Linked DNA regions of Homo sapiens: region 2 is linked to region 1. The links are contacts of gene promoters, found by promoter capture Hi-C in blood cells and fetal thymus (Javierre and others, 2016). All regions are on one chromosome and are shown on one strand. Each heading gives the region's core, a stretch centred on a gene start or on the middle of the fragment in contact. The rest is flanking DNA. Distances are from core to core; before and after follow the strand shown.

Region 1 (5,361 bases), core at 2,862-5,361:
CTGCATTATCTATTTTTTAATAAGAAATTTAAATATTAAAATATGTTAATGACATTAGTCCAATGTCTACGGATCTCACACCACATAGTCCAAACTTCCTCAGACAGAAATATTTTCACTGTTCAAAAATTCTGCCACACTGGGAAATAAAGGAGTAGACATGGGCTGACATTTGAAAATCTATTACCTGTATTTTTTTTGGTAATAGAATATGATTATAAATCTCAACTTTATTACTGACTTAAACAAGGTCACTAAAGCATTTCACGAAGAGTTCCTGATAATGGGTAACCAGATATCTAGGACTAGATACTATTTAGCAGCTGAAAATGATGGCAGAAAATATATGGGCAGCAATAGAAAAAGAATGTGACTAAACATTTTTAGCAATTTGATATAAAATATTTAGATTTTAAAAAATCTGTATAAATGGATGAATAGGTTGGATTTTACGGAAAAAAATAGGCTCAGTTCAATTAGAGACTGAACTGTAACATGATAAATCAGAATCAATGATGACAAGTTTTATATACTATTTTAATAGCACAGAAAACAAAACCAAAAAAACCTATTACCTATTGGCGAAACGACTGATGGAACATCTAATAACTTTTAAATCAAGTTAAGCCTAAAGCTGCCTCCTTACAAATTTTAAGTTTGGCCTAAAGGTTTCTCAACACACAGTGAATTGTAACCTAACTGCATGTGTAAACAGGCTGTAACCTACTCTTATACCAATCACTGTGTTGCAGCCCATCAAAGGCAGCCAACTGTTCGAACCTTGTTCAAGTAAGGTAAACACCAAGCTGTAACCAATCCAGCTGTTTCTGTACCTCATTTTCTTTTCCTGTAATTTATTTGCTTTTTTTGTCCATAATTCTTTGATCATGTGGCAGCACTGGAGTCTCTTTGAACCTGTTCTGGTTGGGAGAGGGGCACATTTCACAAATTGTTCTTTGCTCATTTTAATTTGTCCAAAGTTTTTCTTTTGACACAATGAACTCTGATTCTGCCAGGTGTTTCTGGGAAAATTGTTTTTCAGAAAAGGCAATGAACATTTTTGATAATTTGCTACTACACGTGTGTCTGGAATTGGTTCCTTCCGGTGGGTTCTTAGTCTGACTTCAAGAATGAAGCCTCAGACCTTCGTGGTGAGTGTTACAGCTCTTCAAGGTGGCATGGACCCAAAAAGTAAGCAACCCTAAGATTTATTGTGAAAAGTGAAATAACAAAGCTTCCACAGCATGGAAGGTGATCCGAGTGGGTTGCCACTGCTGGCTAGGGGCGCCAGCTGTTATTCCCTTATTTGTCCCTGCCCACGTCCTGCTGATTGGTCCATTTTACAGGGTACTGATTGGTCCATTTTACAGAGTGCTGATTGGTGCATTTACAATCCTTTAGCTAGACACAGAGCGCTGACTGGTGTGTTTTTACAGAGTGCTGATTGGTGCACTTATAATCCTTTAGCTAGACAGAAAAGTTCTCCAAGTCCCCACTCGACCCAGGAAGTCCAGCTGGCTTCACCTCTCACAAGCAACGTTATGTTTCTCATCTTCTAACAGAGCGTTCTGTGAAGGTCTGAGATGCTCCTACATTTCTAGTCTCATGGAATCTCGTCTTTTTTCAATCTGAAAACAAAATGGAAATGTTTTTGCCTCAACTTGTTTTTTTTCTTAACCAAATAGGATTCCTTATGGTAAAAATAACTGGGAAAATGGTGGCTCCAACTATGTTTTCACAAAAAATTGTAGCTTAAGTGAAATGCAAATGTTCATAAAGTCATTTTGCTATTACTAAAATAATTTATATACCATTGTGATGATTCACTGATTTAATTAATGAATTCATAAGAAAAGTAAAATCAAAGCCTATGGAATAAGCCTGGAATATTTTGGTATCAGTTTTGCTTGCATATCCACAAATTATAGATGGGGCTGTATTTTGTAAAAAAAAAAAGAACTGTGTCATATCTACAGCATAATGAATAAACGATGTGAACAGAAACTTCACAGAGAAGTATAAGTGCTCAATGAAAATATGAAAAGATTCACCTCATTAGGAATTAGAAAATAAAAAAATGAAAGCAAGGCAATATTATTGACCTATATTTACTTGAATTTATCAACAAAATAACTGGTGAAACTGATAGGATTATAAATCATCAGATTATTGTTTATTTGTAAAAGATAGTTGCTCCTAAAATATTTTCTAAAATAAAGAAGATTATGAAAAATATTAAGAAACCTGAATTGATATTTTGTAACTATATGTTCCCACTTTGGACAGTTTCCATTTTTTTTTAATATTCTGATGTCATTTACATTTTATTTTATAATCATATCCCATAATTGATATCTTAGTTTTACGTTTGAATGGGTTAAAATCTCAATGCCAGTTTTTTTAGTTTTTCATTTTTCCCATATTAATACCTTTATTGCTGAGTTATTTACTTTGATTACTCTTGATTGAGTGGACTTTTTGCCCAAGAAAGATTTTTAAGAAGGGTTCTTGGGTATTGTGTTTTTTGAGTTTTTGCTGATTTAGGAGAATCCTGCCCCACCAGTTTGGCTGTAATATTATGGGATCATGCTTTTGTTCTCAGCCTTTTTTACACACTGCACATTGCCATCAGATGCCACTGAGGAGTCTAAGGCCACTATTGTCATTCCCTTGTTTTTATGCCTGGGTGTGAATATAGTCTTTATCCTTTATGTTTAGCAACTTTACCAGGATACACATTGGTATTCATTGCTCCTTGTCAATTTTTCCTACCAAGGACTCTCCAGCCTCACTTCTCATCACCTCCTTTGCTGGAGGCACACCTGCCTTGCCAACTACTTGCCCTTCTGTGAACTTATTATGCTTCTTCATATCCCTGTGGCTTGTCAGAGGCAAGTGAAATTTCTTCGTGCTCTACTCCCACTCTTGTCATTTACTGCCACCATTCTAGCAGATTTACCTTCTCAGCATCTTCTCACTCCCCAGGTGACACAACCACTTTCCCCTTCCACCCTTGAAATGTAACACAGATCCTTAGTATTACAGGGAATTATCATTCATATTTAAAACTCTCCTACCCAGGACTGTGAGCTCCAAGGAAAGGGACGTGTAACTTACATCCACTTAACGACGCAAGCAATTTAAAGCCAAGAGTTCTTGTTGGCAAGAATTGGGAAAGTTGGACGGACAGTATACAATTACCGAGCAGCCAATAAACAGGAAAAGTCATACAGTTCGAATGTTCTGACCAGGCGGATATTCTGTCTTTAAGAAACACTAATCATATACCTGGGAAAGAAAAAAATCTTGGGCCCCTTCAAACTGGGAATTACTCAGGGCAAATCTGCCTCCTATTCTATCCAAGTCACCTCTTTTGCTGACAAAGAATAGATGCATATTCTGATTGCCTCCTTTAGAAAGACTTATCAGAAACTCAAAAGAATGCTACTGTCTATTACCTACCTGGAAGCCCCCAGTTGGGGGGGGCGGGGCTTGCTTTTAACGGTCTCCGCCTTTCTGGAAGGAACTAATGTACTTTTTACATATTGATTGATGTCTCCTGTCTCCCCAAAATGTATAAAACCAAGCTGTGCCCTGACCACCTTGGGCACATGTCCTCAGGACTTCCTGAGGCTGTGTCACGGGCATGTCCTCAACGTTGGCAAAATAAACTTTCTAAGTTAACTGAGACCTGTCTCAAATTTTCGAGGTTCACATACCGTAGGTAAAAGTGTCAGAAGCCTAAAGGTGAGCCAGTGGAAAAGCCTGAAGACCCCTGCAAGGTTATTAGCTAAGCCTCCATAACGCAGGCGGCAAGTGTCCAGGAGTCTGGCGTCTGCTCGCCTGCACCACGACCTCCCTCCTGGGGAGAAGGACATGCATGGTAAGCCATTTCTCCATTTCCATACTGATTGCTTCCTCTCACCACCACGGCCCATCTGCGAAGCAAAACTAATCCTGGCGTGGAACAGGCCGCCTGAGGGAAACAGCTAGAGCCCGGCGCGGGGCGGAGCTGGTTGTGCGCATGCTCCGTGCAGGCGCAGGCGGGGGCTGAGCGCCGTCGGGTTACGCCTGCGCTCCGGGTGAGCCCGCGCCTGCGCCTTTGCGGCCGTGATTCGGTCCCGCTGTCCTAGGCGGGATGGTGCCGCTGTGCCAGGTAAGGGTGGCGGGTGTGCGTGCGGGCCTGGGTGCGGAGCCCTCCTCGACGTGTCTCTCCCGCCCTTTCCCTCCACATACCCAGCCTTGGTCAGTCGGACCTCCCCACTAGCCCCCAACCTGGCCGGCGTCTTGGGTTCGGGGGCGCCCCCGCCCCCGCCCCCGGGCCCTTCCTGTCTCCGGGCTTTACTGCGACTGCCCCAGCAGAAGTCGGGTCCTCTCCGAGAACTCTTGTCAGCTCACGGCAGCAAGGACGGACTCGTTCTGAAGGCGCCTCCACCTTTTATGACCACCTCTTTCCCAGATTATTCGTTTTGATGAAGCTAAAATTTTAATCTAAAAAGAAATGCACCTCATGGAGAATTCTTGTGAAGAACTGTGCTTCATCTGTGGATTTCTACACCCTTGATCATTTGCAAACCTGTAATTATTTCGTAAAGAGTTGTTTGCACGGAGTGACAGGTGCCTATTTTACTTCGTCGGATCCCTTACATACCAGGCTGCTGGCACAAGTTTGTTCTAGCAAATTCCAGTCTGTCGTGTGTTTCAAACCTACTTGCTTCTGTAAATGTCAGATTTACTATGTTGCATAACTTAATCCTTAGCGTCTGGGGACGATGTTATACAGACCGGAATCTAAGGTCATTTGACAACCGTGAGAAACAGGTTTTTCGCTTATTTATTCATTTATTTTATTTGTGTAACTCATCTCTTGACTCAAACATTTGTTCTTTGCTTACATATTTATAAAAGGTGCTATACTTTTATGTCAATTAAGGCAGGCTTAACATGTTTTCCTAGAAGATAAATACTTAGGATTTTAATGATGGCACACTTAAGTTTGTAAAACTAAAAGGCATCCAGAAATTAGTCTGAATTGTATTTAAAACAACAAGTTTTCAGAATTTGAACTTGTAGGTATACTGAAATTTTTTACGGGTTATTTAATTTTCTTTATAAAATTTGTCTTTGATTAAAGCAATACATTTGGAAAATGAGAAAACTGCTCAACATTGACAGTCAGAAAACGAGTATGAGTTGTTATTAAAAGCATTTTCTTTACTTTCAGGTTGAAGTATTGTATTTTGCAAAAAGTGCTGAAATAACAGGAGTTCGTTCAGAGACCATTTCTGTGCCTCAAGAAATAAAAGCGTTGCAGCTGTGGAAGGAGATAGAAACTCGACATCCTGGGTAGTTAAAAATTTG
Region 2 (5,478 bases), core at 2,979-5,478, 5.4 Mb before region 1:
ATCCAATCTATCATTCATGGGCATTTGGGTCAGCTCCAAGTCTTTGCTACTGTGAACAGTGCTGCAATAAACATACATGTGCATGTGTCATTATAGTAGAATGATTTATAATCCTTTGGGTATACACTCAGTAATGGAATTGCTGGGTCAAATGGTATTTCTGGTTCTAGATCCTTGAGGAATGGCCACACTGTCTTCCACAATTGAACTAATTTACACTCCCACCAACAATGTAAAAGCGTTCCTATTTCTCCACATCCTCTCCAGCATTCGTTGTTTCCTGACTTCTCAATGATCGCCATTTTAACTGGCGTGAGATGTATCTCACTGTGGTTTTGATTTGCATTTCTCTAATGACCAGTGATGATGAGCTTTTCTTCATGTTTGTTGATAGCATAAATGTTTTCTTTTGAGAAGTGTCTGTTCATATCATTTGCCCACTTTCTGATGGGGTTGTTTTTTTTCTTGTAAATTTGTTTAAGTTCTTTGTAGATGATGGATATTAGCCCTTTGTAAGATGGATAGATTGCAAAAATTTTCTCCCATTCTGTAGGCTGCCTGTTCACTCTGACGATAGTTTCTTTTGCTGTGCAGAAGCTCTTTAGTTTAATTAGATCCCGGCAAATGGGCACGGTTCTTTTAAATAAAAACTTATTGACAAATGTAAGAATTGGGCTTAATTTGGCCAGGGTTTTTATCATTTGTTGATGTGTCATGCATCATTTTATATATGAGATTATATCCATAGGATAAATTCCTAAGTAAGAGAATACATTCATTTCTAAATTTGATAGATTTGGCCAAATTACTTTTCACTGAAATTATATCAATTTCCATTCCCAACAGCAATATATGGAGTGCTGCTTCCTCAACACTTCAGCAGTTGAGCATGTTCACGGCAACTTTTGAGGGTTTTGCCAATTTTGTAGGAAAGGGTGCCTCAGTATATCTTTCATTTCAATTTCTCTTCTGAAGAGTGAAATTGAGCAAATGTAAGAACCATTTGTTTTCTGTTGGATAATTGGTATTTTATCCAATTGTAGGAGTTTTTATATAACAGGAAGATAAGCTCTTTCTCTGTGATGAGTTGAAAATAATTTTTCCAGTGTTATTTATCCTTTGACTTTATTTGTGGTGTTTTGTTATTTTAAATCAATGAAAGGGTTTTGTTTCTATATAGTTACATTAATGAATCTTGCTTTTTTTTTTTTTTTAGGGATTCTAGATTTTGTAAATAGTTGAAAGTTCTACCACATTCAGGCTATGAAAGAATTCTTTCATATTGTCTTAAAATTTCACGTATTTCAAACTTTCATTTGCTTGAAAATAAGCCAGATATGAAGCATGGATCCATTTTTTCCTTCCTACTGGTTACCAAATTGACTCCATGATATTTAGTAATTAGTCTACTTAATAGAAAGCGCATTTATTTCCTTTTTTGTTCTATAGACTACAATTTTGGTTCTGTCCACATGATGGCACCACAACCCCAAAAAAATCATGTTCTCAGTCGGAAAGAAGACAACATAAGATTTACACAGCGTTAATATTTTATTAAATGCCTCCATGTTGTGGCAGACAGACCTGAATTTCACATGGAATGTTCAACAGTTTATCAAATACTGAAGTCCATTTGGTAAAGATACATACCATAGTGTATGCTAATCAAAGAAGAAATTGACATTTAAAAAAAAATCATGACAATCTATTCTTCAGTTTTTTATCTTAGGCCACAAATGAATACACATACACATACACACATATGTATACATATACAGTTTATTATCAACCATAAAGACATGGTGTGTAAACTAGCTTTGATAAATTCTAGTAATATTTTCTAAACCTGCAAGCCTTCTACATCTTAGAGAGTAGGTTTGCACAAATCTGGGAAGCAAAGGTCACCCCTGGGCTTATGAATAAAGAGGATAATTACGTAATTCTGAATTTCCACCCCTAAGCCCCACCCCTTATTCCATCCCTGACAATCTTGGGGTTAAAGTCTATTGTCACTTATGAGAAACATGCCTGGACTTGCCCTGCACTCTTTAAAGAATCAAAAACGGAAGTGACAGCAAAGACTTTCCCTTTCTCCTCGCTAATGGCAAAGCCTTTCCCTTTCTCCTCTCTAATGGCAATAAGCCTCTTTTCCACATTATGCTGGAAGTATTTGAGACACAGTATTTTTGTAAATGTTCGATTAATGTTGATACCACACATACCTAAATTTGACAGTGGACTGCAGCAACTTTTTGTATGTACCTTCCAGGGATTCAATAATCTGGTATTCTAAATTTCTCTGGAATTTAGCTTCAAAAAACTATTTACCATATCCTGTTAACATAGGTAAAAAGATTCAAGTGTGCTGCTAATTAACCTAACCTCGATGATCTAGTAAAAATATACAATAATTACCTAAGTTCTCCAAGCCTCATCTATAAAATGGGAATAATAATGTAGGAGATGAGAATATGCCACCCCAAATATGGCCCTGGGATAAAGATTATTTTAAGATAATTATTTTGAGAACCAGCAGACCCAGGAAATGCTCTAAAAATGGCATATTACCCTTTCGTAAGGGAAACGTACATTCACTAAAAAAAAAAACAACAAAAACAAAAAACAAAAAAACCCCACAAAACTCCATTTGTAAAAGTGTCTCCTCTGTACCAGGAAGAATGACTCTAAATCATGAAAAACTTATCAATGAAGAAATAAGAAACCCCACTCCTGTTTACCGTACATTTCCTGGTCATGATTCCTTAACTTGCCTGCCCCACTCTTTTCTTTTGGTTTAGCTAAAGATAGTATTTAAGCCCGATTTTAAACCATCTCTAATTTTCCTGGTTATCTCCCATGTATATATGAGACGTATATGTTAATAAGCTTCTTTGTTTTCTTGTTAATCTGTCTGGTTACAGCGACCCAGGCCAAAACTTTGAAAGGTGGAAAATTATTTTTCCTTCCTTACAATATTTCTCTCAGAATTGTTGTAGGATGAAATAAGGCATTTAAAAATACTGCACAGTCCTCAATAAATGTTACTCTATCGTAATTAGAACAAGAAAAACAAACAAAAAAACGTGTTCCTAGATTAGTCAAACTGCACAGCAAAATCTGGAAATGGGAAACTAAGCTGTGTTTGCACTCACTGGCCTACGCTCCTCTCTTCATCCTACCAATCTCCCTACCCCAGAAAGTCTCAGATTGACTCTCCAGGAACCAGGGCAGCTCATGAGCCATCTCAACAGATGCATTCGGAAGAAGTCATAGATGACTCTGATTGGAAACTCACAATCGGCATCGATGTTTAGTACTAGTAACTGTCAAAGGCCCACGGTTGTCAACCGCTGCCCACTTCGACACCTAACGGCATTCCGGAACATTCCACAAGATGGCGCCCTTGCTTTCCAATCTTCGGGCTACGGGCGGAGGACGCCTTGCCAGGACGCCGACCTCGCTCTGCAAGGTTCAGGGGCCGACCTCAGACAGAGGCTCGCTCTAGGGGCATGGGCGGGGGCCAGACGGGCCTCGAGTGGGATCCTGGCACGGTTGGCCGATCGGCCCGGGATCCCGGCTGCGGGCCCGTGTCTGCCCTAGCGCGATGGGCTCGAATGCCCGGCTCCACGAATCCCGGCCTTTCACCCCCACGGCCTCTCGGCACTGCCCCAGCTAGACACCAGCGAGCTCGTCACAGCGCGGGCAGGCACTGCGGGGCAGCTGCAGACGAGCCCTGTCATACGGCCGGAGGAGGCCTCGCCTGCCCGTGCGGCGGGCTCCGGGCACCCTGATACCTTGACACAGGAGGCCCCGGGCGGCCGGGAAGGGCTGTGCGGGGGAGGGACTGCGTCTACACCCGCGCCCGACTCGCTCGGGTCACGGCACTGCCCTGCCACCAGGCGGCTGGGGCGGGGGTGAGGCCAGGCGTCGGCCCTCGCGATTCTGTTTTGTACGCTGAGGCTCGGAGCCTTCGAAGAACGGGACAGCGGGGCCCACGGACGGCTCTGAAGGCCTTCCCGCGGCCGCAAGAGATCTCGGCGGCCGGCGTTTGAGGCGCGCGGCTCCGCTGGGAAGCGAGACCCGGGTGGCGGGACAAGACTTGCTTCCCGGCCACGCGCGCTCGGCCGGCCGTGGGGCGGGGCATAGGCCGTGACGTGATGTCGCGTATCGAGTCTCCGCCCCCTTCCCGCCTCCCCGTATATAAGACTTCGCCGAGCGCTCTCACTCGCACAAGTGGACCGGGGTGTTGGGTGCTAGTCGGCACCAGAGGCAAGGGTGCGAGGACCACGGCCGGCTCGGACGTGTGACCGCGCCTAGGGGGTGGCAGCGGGCAGTGCGGGGCGGCAAGGCGACCATGGAGCTTTTGCGGACTATCACCTACCAGCCAGCCGCCAGCACCAAAATGTGCGAGCAGGCGCTGGGCAAGGGTTGCGGAGCGGACTCGAAGAAGAAGCGGCCGCCGCAGCCCCCCGAGGAATCGCAGCCACCTCAGTCCCAGGCGCAAGTGCCCCCGGCGGCCCCTCACCACCATCACCACCATTCGCACTCGGGGCCGGAGATCTCGCGGATTATCGTCGACCCCACGACTGGGAAGCGCTACTGCCGGGGCAAAGTGCTGGGAAAGGTGACAAGCGGAGGGCGCCGGGCTGCCGGGCGGGCGGGAGGTCTGTCCGGGCGACCCCAAGCCGGGCAAGCCCGCGGGGTCCCTCGCCCGCCGCTTCCGGGTTTTTCGGGGGTCCGATCCCAGCGCGAGGTGGGCTCCTCACCTGCCCTCTGGCTTTTGTGCGCCGGCAGCGCTGGGGATCGGCTTTGCATTCTTAGCCTCAGAACTGTGTGTCTCCCGCAGCCCAGAGAAATGCATCTTGAGTCTGGAAGCGAGGGCTTTCTACATCAGACCTCTCTCCCTCTATCTGCTCCCAGGGAATTTTCCTGACAAGTCTCATCAGAGATTATTTTTCATGTCTCCCCGTTCCAACTCCCTCCATAAAGCTCCCCTTTATAAAAGAAGAAGAGAAACTGTTTGAACTTGCTGTTTCCAGCAATGCATTTCTCTTCATGAGGGAGCTTTAACGAAGTCGAATGCCTCCCTCTGTCCACCCTCCTCCATTCCTCAATTTTTTTTTTTTTGCTTTTCTTTCTTCCCATTTATTTATTTATTTAAAATATCTGCCGTCCATTTTTGTGCCATCCTCAATTCCGTCTCGGCTTTGTTTCCTTTCAGGGTGGCTTTGCAAAATGTTACGAGATGACAGATTTGACAAATAACAAAGTCTACGCCGCAAAAATTATTCCTCACAGCAGAGTAGCTAAACCTCATCAAAGGGAAAAGGTGCGTATGACTCTTGAGTAAAGTATTTTCTTTGTGTGCAAGGATGGCCCTTCCCTGTTAGGAAAATGTCTTCTGCATGTGTAATCACTGGCTTTTCCGAGGTGACTGGAAGCTAATAAGCCTTACCTTGCTTTTTCATTTAGATTGAC

The links. Contacts are between HindIII fragments. The CHiCAGO score rates a contact against its expected background, and 5 or more counts as called.
Region 2: a contact is called between the fragment with the promoter of PLK2 here and the fragment with the promoter of MOCS2 in region 1, in 1 of 17 cell types (activated CD4 T cells). The highest score is 10.2, in activated CD4 T cells.

Annotation. Positions count from the first base shown.
Region 1 is chr5:53,108,507-53,113,867 of GRCh38, reverse strand. It overlaps MOCS2 (molybdenum cofactor synthesis 2), which reads left to right and starts at 4,111. Exons shown (of 7, transcript NM_004531.5): 1 at 4,111-4,617; 2 at 5,225-5,346. It overlaps MOCS2-DT (MOCS2 divergent transcript), which reads right to left and starts at 4,026. Exons shown (of 2, transcript NR_104654.1): 1 at 3,720-4,026; 2 at 1-9. RefSeq lists a silencer at 4,083-4,372. The HindIII fragment of the contact is 4,897 bases long and covers 1,237-5,361 here.
Region 2 is chr5:58,458,836-58,464,313 of GRCh38, reverse strand. PLK2 (polo like kinase 2) reads left to right here and starts at 4,228. Exons shown (of 14, transcript NM_006622.4): 1 at 4,228-4,624; 2 at 5,222-5,329; 3 at 5,473-5,478. The coding sequence starts at 4,355. RefSeq lists a silencer at 3,731-3,910. The HindIII fragment of the contact is 4,873 bases long and covers 2,889-5,478 here.